Linked DNA regions of Homo sapiens: regions 2, 3 and 4 are each linked to region 1. Evidence: promoter capture Hi-C in 16 types of primary human blood cells and fetal thymus (Javierre and others, 2016). All regions are on one chromosome and are shown on one strand. The core of a region is centred on a gene start or on the middle of the fragment in contact, and the rest is flanking DNA. Distances in the headings are between cores, read along the strand shown. Region 1 holds the start of PPP1CB (protein phosphatase 1 catalytic subunit beta). Region 2 holds the start of GTF3C2 (general transcription factor IIIC subunit 2). Region 3 overlaps GPN1 (GPN-loop GTPase 1). Region 4 overlaps LOC105374378 (a long non-coding RNA gene).

Region 1 (3,603 bases), core at 792-3,291:
TCCCAGCTACTCAGGAGGCTGAGGCGGAAGAATCGCTCGAACCCGGGAGGCGGAGGTTGCAGTGAGCTGAGACCGTGCCATTGCACTCCAGCCTGGGCGACAGAGTGAGACTCCGTCTCAAAAAATAAAAATAAAAAAAAAATAAAAAGGAGTAGGCCTCTACTTCCCAAATGTAAACAAGACATACACATTTTTAAATTAACTGTATTTCCCTCATAAAACAGTTACAAAATACAATTATTTTCAAAGCAAATTTCTCAAAGACCCAGCAAGATGTTCACATCTGAAACAAAGTCTTAGGTAGTGAACACTGACTGCAGGCACCAGGGGGCCTCCCAGGAATAACTTGATAGTAAAGGAAAAGGTAAATAAGAGTTCCTGGTAAAACTTTTGCTTCCTATTCAGTCTTAAGACTGCTGGATGGCTTTCACATCTGGAGCAAATACACAGTATTTAGTTACAGAACAGGTACTCACAGAACTTGGGTTTGAGATACCGACACATACTTTGAGAAAAAGGAATTACCCCTCCCCCATTACAATATTCTTTGATGATTTTCCAAATATAAGTACATACTGCTTCACTCTAGCAATTATCTTAAGGTAATTTGAAAGCAAACAGTACATATGCAATCGCTGGACGGCGGCTAACAAAGAGGCCTCTAAATTGTTTAAAAAGGATTAAAGGCTTTTCTACACACTCACAAAACAATTATTGATGACGAAAACTTTAGGGTAGAGGGACTGTTTGGCAGAAGACTGCATTTAACTTTGAATAATATCCTGCAATGAATCAATACATTTAACTCCCGGCTAGTCCACCTCTTCGTTTTCCCCCCTTGCCTTCCCACCAACATAAAACTATTCAATAAGAACACTTGAGCCCGGAAAGTTCAAATGCTGCGTAGACCTACAAATACCTTTCGAATACAAGACAGGCTTTAAAAATAGATTTTCACTAAGTTTGTGCAGAAATTAAGCTCTGCTCAAATCAAATGCAAAAGCCAATCCCTTCAGCAAACCCATCTACATACATCACATTTCTTAGGTGCATCTTCAACCTGATCAAATATCTTGTCTTACAATTTTTTTAGGCCAAGTAACAAACGGTAGATTAATTCCCGCTAATTTTATCCTCTCTTTAAGAAGAATCCATTCTATATAGCATTGTGTAAAAATGCAGAGCAGACGAAGCAGTCCTGTTAAGGACAGGTTTATATATATATACGTAAAATTCACTCCCGGAACGACAATCGGAGGCAGCCAAGGGCAATGCACAAAGAGAACAGAGAAGAACAGTGATTCCACGGACGCACAAAGCCCAGTGGCAGGCATCCTCTCCCCATCCTCGGGTCACCGGAGGCGAGCACCACGGCGCGCGGAGCCCGGCGGCCTTTCCGAAAGGCTGTCTCCCGCAGACCCGCTCCGCACAGCCTTCGGCCGGCGGGCCTGGCCCCCGAGGGTCCGCGGGAACGGCCCCCTCTCCCCCGATCTCCCCTGACCGCGCTCCCAGAGGCCGCTCCCCCGCGCCCAGAGCCTCCTCGCCCCCTCCTCGGTTCGTCCGCCGCGCCGCGCTCCCAGAGACTCGTCTCGGGGCGGGAAAGGGGTCCCCTCGCGTTCCGGCGGCAGACGGGGACGCAGGGGTCGGCGGCGGTGCCCGACCTCCCTCTGTCCCGCGGCCAGGCGCGCACTCACCCTCCAGCAGCCGGGTGATGAGGCTGTCCACGTTCAGCTCCCCGTCCGCCATCTTGTCGGCACAGACTCTCCTTCCCAGCAGCGGGAACAAGGGCTTCTCGGCGGCGGAGGCTGCGGCGACGGCTCGGCGTTCTCTCACCTACAAGTCACGCGGCGTTTCGACCCCGGCTCCAACTCCCCCTTTTCCCGGGCCCTCCCCCCACCCCCTCCCCGCCGGGTAGCGAGAGCGCGCGCACACTCGGAGGCACCCACGGAAAATAAATAAATAAACAAGAGAGGCCCCCTCGAACAGGGCCGCGTCAGACCCAGGCCGCCACCTCCTCCTCCTCGGCACCGCCCAGCTCCGCAAAGCTCACCAGCGCCGCCGACGGCCCCACCCGCAGCGCCACTCACTCCGCACGTCCCTTGCGCGCCGCCGCGTCACGCAGCTCTCCGCGCAGGCGCGCGGTGCGCTCCCCGCCGAGGCTCCCCTCGACGCCTGGGCCGCCGCGCAACCGCACTGGAGCGGCTTCTCCCGCTGCCGTCTTCGCGCAGGTGCGTCGCCCTCTCTCCACGTCCACGGCGCCGAGTCTCGCCACGGTGGCGCAGGCGCCAGGGAGGTTCCCCGGCTTTGCCGCGCGGAGGAAGTCCCGGTTACGCAGAGCGCGCTGGGGCAGGGCTGACCTTCCCCTTTCTCTACTTCACTGGCCTCCTCCAGACGTGGTGGTTGCGCCCTTTCGGCCTCGCTTTCCGTTTTTTGGCTTCATCCCCTAGATCTGCAAACAGTTCCTCGTGTTTCTTCCGTTAGCCGGGAAACGCGAACTGCAGCGTTTGGGACCCGGGTTTGCGCGTGTGGAAAGCAAAAGGGGTTACTCTGCTGGAGTTCGACATTGCAAATAAAGGTCTTTATCCCCGGCGGTTCTACAAAATTAGTTCTGCAGGGATTCTGGTTGAAAGAAGCGTTAAAGTGGGCCTTGTAGGAGTCAGCAATAATCCAATTTTACATGGGTGCAGGTGGCTGCCTGTGTCTAGCGCTTTCACACATCTCATATCTTCATCCACGCCGTGGGTATTTTTTTTCCACGGTGTGTTTCTGTTGCTGCCTCCAGTATATTGCTTAATCATCCTACCTGGTAATTATTTATGCATTTTTCTCCTACTCTCGACTCAGCTCCTAGGGAATAAAAACACATTAACTTATCTTTGTGCCCACAGCACCCACCAAGTATTTCCATCACGTAATACTGCCTCTAGAAAGGCAGGAGGAGAAGCAGTCACGCTAAGGATCTAGGCAAGCCAGATCTTTTGTCCGGTTTTAGGAGGTGGCCAGCCCTTACTTATTCCACAAGTGTTTTTCCAGAAACTCAGACTTGATATTGCCTCAAGTCCAAGGCAGTGTGCTTCCCCCACTCACATATCACTAATAGTAGCTAACATTTGTTCAGATCCCTGTATGTACTCTGCCACTGTTTTAAATGTTACACCCGGGTTACCTCATTTAATCCTTACAACTGCCCTGTGAGGTAGGTACTATTATTATCTCTACTTTGTAGATGGGATTCACCGAGGCACAGACGGTTAAAAAACCTAGCCCAAATAACACAAATAAACAGCAGAGCATGCAGTGCTAGAGTCTGCATTCTTAACAATTGCTATATTCTCCCTCTCCGTGAATGTGGGCTGAGATGCTGAAACAGGCATGTGCTGTGGGGGAGAAAAAGCTTTGTCCAACCAAGTGCTTTCTAATGTCCAGATGACATAGAGCTAGGATTTCCTAATGTCTTTTTTCCCCTATTTTTCTCTCCATTTCAGGGTTGAGTTTGTGCATCGATTGTGAACACAACAGGCAGCAGGCTATAATGGTGGTCCTGGCTGGAGTAGTTTTCACAGACTTCAGTAATCTGTGGAGATGAACGGGCAGTTCTCTGTA
Region 2 (3,603 bases), core at 504-3,003, 1.4 Mb after region 1:
TCCCAGCACTTTGGGAGGCATAGGCAGGAGGATCGCTTGCGCTCAGTAGTGTGAGACCTGCCTGGGCAATATAGCAAGACCTCATCTCTATTAAACAACAACAACAAAAAAACCTGGAAGTGGTGGTATACACCTGCCACACACCCCAACTATTCAGGAGGCTGAGGTGGCAGGTTGAGGCTGCAGTGAGCCGTGATTGCACCACTGTCCTCCAGCCTGGGTGACAGAGCAAGACCCTGTCTCAAAACAAACAAACAAACAAACAAACACCTAGTAGAAATTAGAGGCAGAGAAGTAGATCAGTGAAAAGATTGGTTATAAATCAAAATTACAAATGCACCTAAAACTTTGGTTCACAATTCCACTTCTAGAAATTATCCTACCCATATAGTTACACATTTGAAGTAATTTAGATGCAAGGTTACTTATAGCAGTGTGATTTATAATAGCAAGGGACCATTGTTTATAACAGCAAAACCATGTAAATATGCATCAATATCAACAAGGCACTAGTTATACCACATCCACCCAATTAAATGCTAACTAGTTATAGCACAGAATGAGAAAGGTTTTTGTGTACAGAAATGGAATAATGGCCAAACTCAGTGACTTACACCTGTGATCGCAGCACTATGGGAGGCTGAGGCAAGAGGATCACTTCAGGTCAGGTGTTCAAGACCAGCCTGGTCAACATAACGAGACCCCATCTCTAGAAAAAATTAAAAAATTAGGCCGGGCGCGGTGGCTCATGCCTGTAATCCCAGCACTTTGGGAGGCTGAGGCAGGCGTATCACAAGGTCAGGAGTTCGAGACCAGCCTGGCCAACATAGTGAAACCCCTTCTCTACTAAAAAGACAAAAATTATCCGGGCTTGGTGGCGGGCGCCTGTAATCTCAGCTACTCGGGAGGCTGAGGCAGGACAATTGCTTGAACCCGGGAGGCGGAGTTTGCAGTGAGCCGAGATCGCGCCACTGCACTCCAGCCTGGGGACAGAGCAAGACTCCATCTCAGGAAAAAATAAAAATAAAAATAAAAACGGGGTCTCACTATGTTGCCCAGGCTGGTATCGAATTCCTGGGCTCAAGTGATCCTCCCCCGCCTTGGCCTCCCAAAGTGCTGGGATTACAGACAGGAGCTACCATACCCAGCCAAAGTCATGCTTTTCTACTCCTACTCCTTCCCTTCCTTGTCCTCTTTCCAAGCTCTCTCGGGCCCATCCCTGACTTCACTACTGGCAGAATCCTCCAGCGGCCGGCGGCGAGGACTTCTTTGTCTCCCAGACTCCGCCTTGGGCTCGGACGCCGCCAGGGTTGCAGGTACAGACTCTCTGGTCTAGCTGGCTCTTCCGGCCACAGGCGCGGCAGTCCGGCCGGAAAGGCCGGATTCAGGGATCCAGAGCGCGAGCCCGGCCTGGGAGTCCGCCTACTCCCGGCTCCCGTCGAGGCCGCGTGGGATCCCGTTGGCCGCGCAGGCGTCGATCTCCCCTTTTTGACACTGCAACTCCCATGAGGCCCTGCAGCGTCCCTGGCGCCGCTGAAGACGCCCTGGAACTCGGCTGGCTTCGGAGGGCTCGGTGACTCTGGCCGCGCTGCATTATGGAATACAGAGTCTAAGAGAAAACTAGCCCGGCACCGACTCCGGACCAAGCACACGTGTTTACCTTGTGCACTGGGGTGGGGGCGTCAGTGAAGAGCAGCTAACAAGATTTCGTCATAAGACCGCGACCAGACAGGCGGCGCCATCTTCGAACTTAGACTTCCGGAAGGACTTTGGCGAGGGTGAGTGTATCGCCGCAGCGGGTGTGTGGGGGGCCCCACAATTACTCCTCCCCCTTCTTTTGCCATAGCACTAAGATATTGGGAACAAACTCCTGGCTCCGCTCTTCTCCCAGCCACAGCAGCGCGCCTTTCAGCGTCTGCGCTCCTACAGAGCACCATCATGCTCCGCACCTTCCCTACTGTGGCCACCGTGCACCCCCCATCTCTGCAAGCCTCGGGTCTTGCCCTCCTCCCCCACGCGGTGTCGGTAACGCGGAAGCCTGTGTCCGGGCGTAGGCGCTGCATACGTAGCGTCCCTCGAACTCGGCGAACCTACAGTAGTCCTTGTTAGAAAAACCAGGGCTCCTCTCCCGCACAGGCTAGGGGAGAAATCTACCTTCACGCCCAGGACTGAAGAAGGGCAGGTGATGGCCCCTAGAGTGGTTGTGGGTCAATCTCTTTCAGCTGTGTCCCAGCCTCTTCCTCGAGGAGGCTCTTTAACCCCGAGGGTTGTGCCCCGCGCGCTGCAACGCCATTGGCGTAACCAAGGGCCAGTTGTGTTTCCCTGTCTAGTCCTTTTGTCCCGTGGCAAGTTGGCTGCCTGTTGGGGAAGTCAGAGGTGGCGACTTCAACTCCGTCGGAGGCAACTCACTTTGTTGGAGGGATGTATAGGGTATGGACAAACCTCTTTGTTCCAGAGGCATATACAATTTTAAGTCAATCCCGTGCCATCACTATTTTTGCAATCTCTTATCAATTGTACTATTGTTTTCTGAATAGTTCTCTTTAAATTGACTTACTTAAAAAGTTTAAATGCATTAGTCTCGACCTAAGCAATATAAATGAAACCGTGGGTTTCATGGGCTACTTATAATTGTTTATGTAAGTTGAAATAAAAGCACTAGTCATTAAAATGTTCGTTTTCGTACCATTAAAATCATCTTGCATACCGCCAGTTGTACCCTAGGAACACTTTAGGAAACAATATATTAAGCTAAGCAGTGTATTCAAAGTAATTTCATACTTAAGGTGCAGTGTTGTGTCATTATTTTTTCTTGGCTGGGGAGGTCAAGCTGGCATCCTGGAGCAGCATGGGAACCAGACAGATTGGGGTGCAATGGAAGGTTTTAGAAACTCAGTACGAATTTACTGATCATCTATTCCTTTACTGTGTATCCAGAATTTGTACCATTACATCCTGCTGCTGCCTTCCATGAGAAGTGTATTTTTTTTTTTTTTGATACGGAGTTTTGTTCTTGTTGCCCAGGCTGGAGTGCAGTGGCGTGATCTCGGCTCACTGCAACCTCCGCCTCCCGGGTTCAAGCGATTCTCCTGCCTCAGCCTCCTGAGTAGCTGGAATTACAGGCGCGTGCCACCATGCCCGGCTACTTTTGTATTTTTAGTAGAGACGGGGTTTTACCATGTTGGTCAGGCTGGTCTCGAACTTGTGACCTCGTTATCCGCCCACCTCGGCCTCCTAAAGTGCTGGGATTACAGGCGTGAGCCACCGTGCCCGGCCAGGCAAATTATATGTACAGGCAATTCATAAAAGTCATATGGATGTCCAATATATAGAAAGAAGTTGCTGACACCAATTATTATCAGTGCAAATAAATAGAGTGGGGAAGAATTCTTTCACCTATCAGATTGGCGAAAATTAAAAAGATCAGTAACGGTATGATAAAATGGGTACTAATATACATAAATAGTTTTAATTTTGGTGAGCCGTTTGGTAGTATCAAATTTTGAAATGTGCATGTTCTTCAGTGTAGTACAGTAATTCCATGTTCAGATGATTATTCGAGAAAAATAATTTATTGATGAATTAATGAAGAGATTTGTACTA
Region 3 (3,603 bases), core at 971-3,470, 1.1 Mb after region 1:
TGAGGCAGGAGAATCACCTGAACCCAGTAGGCGGAAATTGCAGTACGGTGAGATTGTGCCACTGTACTCCAGCCTGGGTGACAGAGCAAGACTCCGTCTCGAAAAAATATAAATAAATAAATAAATAAATAATTAATATGAAAATGAAATAATGCTGTCAATCTTCAGATTTCTATTTGGATCACAATTTCTTGCATCCACCAAAAAGGGACATCCCTTGTCATATCAGAAAAGACAAATGTTGGTGATGGCATTTGTGTACCCTCAAAATTAAATTCTCTCAGCTTTAATAACTGTCAGCCTTGCTCCTCAGTCTTAATGCACTAATCTAGTGAGGCATGCCCTTCCTCTGCTAATGGTGCCACATTTGGGGCAAACCAGTGCATTTTATTTTTTTGAGACAGGGTCTCACTCTGTTGCCCAGCCTGGAGTACAGTGACATCATCACAGCTCACTCCAACCTTGGCCTCCCAGGCTCAAGCAATCCTTCCACCTCTGCCTCCCAGGTAGCGGGGATTACAGGCACACACCACCATCCCTGGCTAATTTTTTGTATATTTTGTAGAGATGGGGTTTCACCATGGTGCCCAGGCTGGTCTCAAACTCCTGGGCTCAGGCGATCCTCCCACCACAGCCTCCCCAAGTGCTGGGATTATAGGCATGAGCCACCATGCCTGGCCACCTGTGCATTTTACAATTATGGATAAATCTTCTTATTCATGGTATCTCCTCATGTTACAATTTCACTCTACCAGCATCATTTAGGCCAGAGGACTCTATTCTTCTCTCTCTCTCTCGTTGCCCCAGGCTCTTGTTGCCCCAAGCCGGAGTGCAGTGGCACAATCATGGCTCACTACAGCCTCAACCACCTGAGCTCAAGCAATCCTCCCACGTCAGCCTCCCAAGTAGCTGGGACTACAAGGGCGTGCCACCACGCTGGCTAATTTTAAAACATTTTTTGTAGAGACAGAGTCTTGCTATGTTCCCCAGCCTGGTTTCAAACTCCCAAGCTCAAACGATCCTCCCACCTTGGCCTCCCAAGTGTAGGGATGACAGACCCAGCCCAGAGGACTTTATCTTTAAACTTGGATTTTATCCAACTGGGAACAACTATCAGACAGTTCATATTCATACATCACCTTTTTGTAACAACAAGGGAGGAAGATCAGAGGGTATTGAGAGAGAATGCCAACAGCACATGTGCCTCTTTTCTCCTCTGACCTTCCCCAGCTCACAGCCACTCAACTGAACAGCAAATCTGAATGAGCACAAATCCAGGGGTAAGCAACCAGATTCAAAAAAAAAAAAAAAAGAGGAAGAAGAAGAGAAAAAGGCCTTATACCTTGATGGAACACTTTCCCCACCAACAATCAATTACCTGCAGGCATAGAGCATGTTGGACATGAAGGTCACTGGGTTGGTACTTCTCGATGTGTCCATTACATAGATGACAACTGTTGGAAATGAGGATGCCTAAAGCCACAAAAAAATCAAAGCCTTGGTCAGAGGGCTCACGATCTGTCCTCAAACTCTTTTTCCACCATCCTTAACAAGGGAAAACCACTTTAGGCAGGGTGTGCAGAGCTTCTACAACTTCCTCCCATATAAAGTCCAAGGCAATTAAAAATAAATGCTCATCCAGTCTAGCCCCTCTAGCTACTCTCAGTAGCAAGTCCTAGAATACTCACAAGGGCTTCAGTGATAATTGTCCCAGAAGCTGACCAGGTGAATACCTCAATCTGTCCAGGTGTGTCAATCAACACATATCTATGTCAAGAAAGATCATTAAAGAAGTGTTACATTTGTGTTATGCTGAAGGATATTCCATCATATAAGACAATAAACATCTGGTTATCCAAGACTGGAGTAACCTCTGCACACTGCCAAATCTAACTTCCTCCTACTGGCCCTAAACTGCACATGATGATCCCCTAGACTTTGTTCAATGACCAATATTCACGCCAATGGGCAGGAACAGCAGACCATGAGTTGCTGCAAATGATCACAGGGGAAACTTTTATAGAAACACAATGCATTTAAAATGAAAGACACAAAACCAGAATGTAAATCTCTTGGGAAACATCTGGTTGCTTAGGGCGGGGGTGAGTGTGGAACAGAGGAAGAAGAATGGGAGGAATGGGAAAGTGCTAGCTGAAGAATATCAGGTTACTTCTTGAGATGATGAAAATATTCTAAAATTGACTGTGGTGATAGTTGTACAATTCTGTGAATATACTAAAAGCCACTGAATTGTATACCTTAAATGGGTGAATTGTATGGTATGTGAATTATCTCAATAAAGCTGTTTTTATGAACTATATCAACTTTTTTGTGAATTAATTTGATATAATTATGAATTATATCAGAATTTTTTTAATTGGCAAAGAATTCTAATAGACATTTCTCTAAATATATACATACCAATGGCCAATAAGTACATTAAAAAGATGTTCAATATCATTAGTTATTAAGAAAATAAAAGTAAAAACCACAATGAGATACCACTCTATATCCACTAGAATGGCTATAATCAAAAACAAGAAGAATAACAAAAGTTGGCAAGGTTATGGAGGAACTGGTTGTGGAGAAATCATATTGCCAATGGGAATGGAAAATGGGGTAGTCACTAGGGGCTAAAGGGAACAGAAAATAAGGAGTGATTGGTAATGAGTATGGGGTTTCTTTTCAGGATGACAAAAATATTCTGAAGATAGTAATTATCAACACACGACTCTGTGGACAGACTAAAACAACCATACACTTTAAACGAGTGAACTTTATGGTATATGAATTATATCTTAATAAAGCTGTCATTAAAAAAAAAAAAATACCTCCAGGCCAGGCTCAGTGGCTCACACCTATAGTTCCAGCACTTTGGGAGGTTAAGCCGGGCAGATCACTTGAGGTTAGGAGTTTGAGACCAGTCTGGCCAACATGGTGAAACCCCATCTCTACTAAAAATACAAAAATTAGTCAGGCATGGTAGCAGGCCACCTGTAATCCCAGCTACTCAGGAGGCTGAGGCAGGAGAATCGCTTGAACCCGGGATGCAAAGATTGCAGTGAGCCAAGATCACACCACTGCACTCCAGCCTAGGCAATAGAGCGAGACTCCATCCCAAAAATACAAAAATACAAAAATTAGCCAGGTGTGGTGGCTCACACCTGTAGTCCCAGCTACTTGGGAGGCTGAGGTGGGAGGATCACCTGAGCCAGGGAGGTGGAAGTTACAGTGAGCTGAGATCACTACACTGTACTCCAGCCTGGGCGACAGAGCAAGACCCTGTCTCAAAACAAAACAAAAGCTACCTCTAGTACCCCATTTTTGTAAAAGCACTTTTATCCATTCATCCTTCTATCTGTGTATATAGAAATGTGGAATGCTAGTCGCTGAATGATGATGTTACTTCTAGTGGGAATCGGGGTGATGGTTTCATCTTATAAATATCATGCATGGTTTGAATTTTTATAAAACAATAAATTATCTTTTTTAAAAAAAGTAAACCTTGAACAACAGCTAACTGGGTAATGGCCATAAGAACAAATATTTCCTATTCTGACACTCTGTAAATTAAAAAATTTTCTCTGAACCATGTAGACTATA
Region 4 (3,603 bases), core at 782-3,281, 1.0 Mb after region 1:
TCTGCTCTTCCTTCTCTACGGTGGGCTCCCTTAGAAAAATTAGCTCTCTCTGGGTTTCAACTGATGCTTCCACAACAACGACATAATGGATAGTAGAGAGACATGGTCACTGGGGAATAGATTTTTTTAAAAATAATATCCTCCACTTTGGGAGGCCGTAGGCAGATCACCTGAGTTCAGGAGTTCGAGACCAGCCTGGACAACATGGCAAAACCACATCTCTATTAAAAATACAAAAATTAGCCAGGCATGGTGGCATACGCCTCCCAGCTACTCAGGAGGCTGAGGCAGGAGAATTGCTTGAACCCAGGAAGCAGAGGCTGCAGTGAGCTGAGATCATGCCACTGCACTCCAGCCTGTGCAACAGAGCAAGACTCTGTCTCAAAATAATAATAATGATAATAATAATAATAATATCCTCACTTTGCAGAGAGGAAAGGATTCAGATGAGTTAGGAGACCCACCCAAGGGTCACTCACCTTAGGCAACTCGCCCTTTTTACCACCTTCTCTTCCGTCGTGGCCCCATCCCCACAGCGACCTATGAGGCTGTAACACACAGAAGGAAGCCCCACTTAATCAAAAGTAACTGGGCCAACTCCTCCTGCCCAACCCCATGCCATGGCCAGATCATTGTCAAGCTGTCCCAGGCGTGCGTCATGGTCACTCCCTGATCTGACTTGAACATTGGCCTTGGGAGGAAAACGGAGCTGTCAGTCTGACTTCCTCTTCCTTTCTCCCCTCTGCCTCTGCTGAGAGCATTGAGGGAGGAGTCATAGTTCTCTTCATAGTCATAGTTTCCAGAATAAGGCATTTCCATAGGCAGCCGGGTGCGGTGGCTCACGCCTGTAGTCCTAGCACTTTGGGAGGCAGAGGCAGGCAGATCACCTGAGGTCAGGAGTTCCAGACCAGCCTGGCCAACATGGCGAAACCTTGTCTCTACTAAAAATACAAAAATTAGCCAGGCATGGTGGGGCATGCCTGTAATCCCAGCTACTCGGGAGGCTGAGGCAGGAGAATCACTTGAACCCAGGAAGCTGAGGTGGCAGTGAGCTGAGATTGTGCCATCGCACTCCAGCCTGGGCAACAGAGCGAGACTCCATCTCAAAAAACAAAAACAAAAACAAAAACAAAAAAATCATAGGCTATAGTAGTGCTGTTGCCATTTGACTAGTGTCTATTACACTGAGCATCTACTATATACCCAGAACTTTCCTGGGTTCTAGGGATATAGCAATGAGCAGAACAAATTCTTTTTTTTTTTTTCTTTGAGGTAGAGTCTCACTCTGTCACCTAGGCTGGAGTACAGTGGTGCAATCTCAGCTCACTGCAACCTCTACTTCCCAGGTTCAAGTGATTTTCGTGCCTCAGCCACCCAAGTAGCTGGGATTATAGCCATGCGCCACCACACACAGCTAATTTTTTTGTATTTTTTAGTAGAGATGGGGTTCGCCATGTTGGCTAGGCTGGTCTCAAACTCCTGGCCTTAAATGATCCACCCACCTCAGCCTCCCAAATTGCTGGGATTGCAAGCATGAGCCATCGCACCTGGCGCAGAACAAATTTTTATCCTATATATTGTAACAGAACTGTATTGAACGAAGTATTTCAGCCTTGGATGACACATACTTAAACCCATGAAGATGATAAAGCCCACTATCGAGAAGACTTATTGTTTTGTCTGCCCAGAACAGCACCTCCCTTCTTTGGGGGAAATCCTCCTTCACCAATTCAGCTGTAATTATGGAAGGAGCTGCCAATTATTGTGCCAATTATTGTGTATTGCTCCAGTGTTCACAGGAATGAGTGTGAAACCCAGGTTGGGCCAGTCACTGAACCCTAGGAGCCCCTTGGCCACAGTGATTGGTCTAGGAAGAGTCATATGGTCTGGGTTGAACAAATCAGAATGCCTTTCCTTCCATAGCTTTTTCCTTTAAAAGTTTTAAAATTAATTTTAAATACATAAATTATACCTGAATACGTTATCACTGAAAAAGTTTAAACCTGACAGTCTCCTTCAATCTCAACACCTAATCTTAGCTTCACCAGAGATAACCAAGGTAATTTAGTGAATCTAGACCTTTTCTATGCATTTTCATATATTTAGAAATATGTTATAAACATATATAAATATATATTATTATTTCAAGGTTTTGTTTTGGTTTTGGTTTATGCTTGAGTGATACCATATTGTATCTATATACTGCAAATTACATTTTTCATTTACCAAGATGTCTTAGGGGTTTATGTCAGTACATACTTCATTCTTTTTAATAGTTTCCAGGTTTTCAGAGTATAAAATATATCATGGTTTAAAGATGGACACTTATGTTATTCCTAATTTTGCATTACAAATAATTCTTCACATAACACCCTGGCCTGTGTTTCCTTGTGCACATACATGAGAGTTACTGGTCTGGATTTTGAGACATGGCATCATGAGATCCATGGTAACCACATTTCAAATTATAATAGATACTGCCAAATTTCCCTCCAAAGGGACTGGGACAATTTATGTTCCCTCCAATAGTGTATCACAGCATTAGGGTCTCCATTTTCCATTCCTTCATCAGTACTGGAAAAGAACAAAGTGTAACATTTTTGAACTGTGACGACTGCACACTGGTATGCTGCTGTTTGCTGTCCTCTAGCCGGAGCTGGTGTGAAAGAGTGCTTTCCTCTCTGGCCATGGGGCTGTGAGGATGGGCACACAGAGCCTCACAGCCTTGAGAGCAGGTGGATAAATCAACATCCTGAGGGGAGGGGACGTCCCAAGGATGTCCACTCCTTGAAGCCATTTGTTTTATCCCTGTCTCCACAGTAGTTTATGTAAGCCAACACCTTCATCTTTGGGGCTCAAGCTAATTAGAATTTTGTTTCTGTTACTTTCAGCCACAAGACTGAACTCATGATTAAAATGTATAAATGACCATTGTTTCTCTCATCCCTGGCCCTGAGATCACAAAGTTTATGCTGATTATTCTCTCTTATTGTTCTATTTCTCCTCTCCTCCTCATTCCTTACTTTCCTCATGCCCACATTCCTCTCCCCAGGCACCATATTCAGGGGGTTCAGATCACCTGTGGGGTCCTTTTCAGAAAGGGCAGAGGAGAGCAGGAAACAAAGCCCCTGGGAACAGGAGACGGGAGGGGCATGGGCCTGATTCCCCTGTGGAATCTTTCCCGAGTGAACACAGGCACTCTTAGTTTCTGTGCCTAGGCCTTAGGCCAATGTCTCTGTTTTAACAGAAAAAAAAAAAAGAAAGAAAAAGGAAAAGAGTAAAAAAGCAAAAACTAAAAGACACAGTGGAAGAATCTGCCCTCCCTTTTTGTTTTGAATTATCATACCCCCCAGCACTGAGTGAAAACTCATTTTGTTAAAAATTGACATAGCAGTTGCAGCTTCTTAGACACAGACACAACATAAACACATAAACACAGGCTGTGAGTGTTCTTTTGATGGTAGTATGTGTTTATTGTTTTATTTTATTAATAAAAGAGTGAGAACAGGGTACTAAATTATACCCAATCCAAAATAAAAGGAGAGCAGCTCAATATTTACTCCCATAATGACACCAGGTCACCCATCTGTAGGACGCTGGGGC

What was found. The method cuts DNA at HindIII sites, captures the fragments that hold promoters and counts their contacts. A CHiCAGO score of 5 or more calls a contact.
Region 2: the fragment with the promoter of GTF3C2 here is called in contact with the fragment with the promoter of PPP1CB in region 1 in 1 of 17 cell types (non-activated CD4 T cells); the score reaches 5.5 in non-activated CD4 T cells.
Region 3: a fragment that was not itself captured here is called in contact with the fragment with the promoter of PPP1CB in region 1 in 1 of 17 cell types (neutrophils); the score reaches 5.8 in neutrophils.
Region 4: a fragment that was not itself captured here is called in contact with the fragment with the promoter of PPP1CB in region 1 in 1 of 17 cell types (activated CD4 T cells); the score reaches 5.3 in activated CD4 T cells.

What each region holds. Positions count from the first base shown.
Region 1 is chr2:28,750,268-28,753,870 of GRCh38, reverse strand. PPP1CB (protein phosphatase 1 catalytic subunit beta) reads right to left here and starts at 2,041. Exons shown (of 8, transcript NM_002709.3): 1 at 1,695-2,041. The coding sequence starts at 1,746. It overlaps PPP1CB-DT (PPP1CB divergent transcript), which reads left to right and starts at 2,115. Exons shown (of 5, transcript XR_007086259.1): 1 at 2,115-2,228; 2 at 3,486-3,603. RefSeq lists silencers at 1,389-1,608, 2,099-2,288 and enhancers at 1,471-2,115, 2,419-2,628. The HindIII fragment of the contact is 5,134 bases long and covers 1-3,396 here.
Region 2 is chr2:27,354,914-27,358,516 of GRCh38, reverse strand. It overlaps GTF3C2 (general transcription factor IIIC subunit 2), which reads left to right and starts at 1,753. Exons shown (of 19, transcript NM_001035521.3): 1 at 1,753-1,778. It overlaps GTF3C2-AS2 (GTF3C2 antisense RNA 2), which reads right to left and starts at 1,752. Exons shown (of 4, transcript NR_183827.1): 1 at 1,661-1,752; 2 at 615-709. RefSeq lists enhancers at 1,423-1,552, 1,132-1,745, 1,563-1,902, 1,953-2,232, 1,746-2,359. The HindIII fragment of the contact is 6,500 bases long and covers 1-3,603 here.
Region 3 is chr2:27,633,010-27,636,612 of GRCh38, reverse strand. GPN1 (GPN-loop GTPase 1) reads right to left here. Exons shown (of 14, transcript NM_007266.4): 6 at 1,689-1,767; 7 at 1,379-1,473. Among named protein-coding and RNA genes, the nearest start is that of GPN1, 5.8 kb to the right of the region's middle. The HindIII fragment of the contact is 9,452 bases long and covers 1-3,603 here.
Region 4 is chr2:27,724,562-27,728,164 of GRCh38, reverse strand. The region is part of intron 2 of LOC105374378 (a long non-coding RNA gene); the gene reads right to left. Among named protein-coding and RNA genes, the nearest start is that of LINC01460, 11 kb to the right of the region's middle. The HindIII fragment of the contact is 5,291 bases long and covers 1-3,603 here.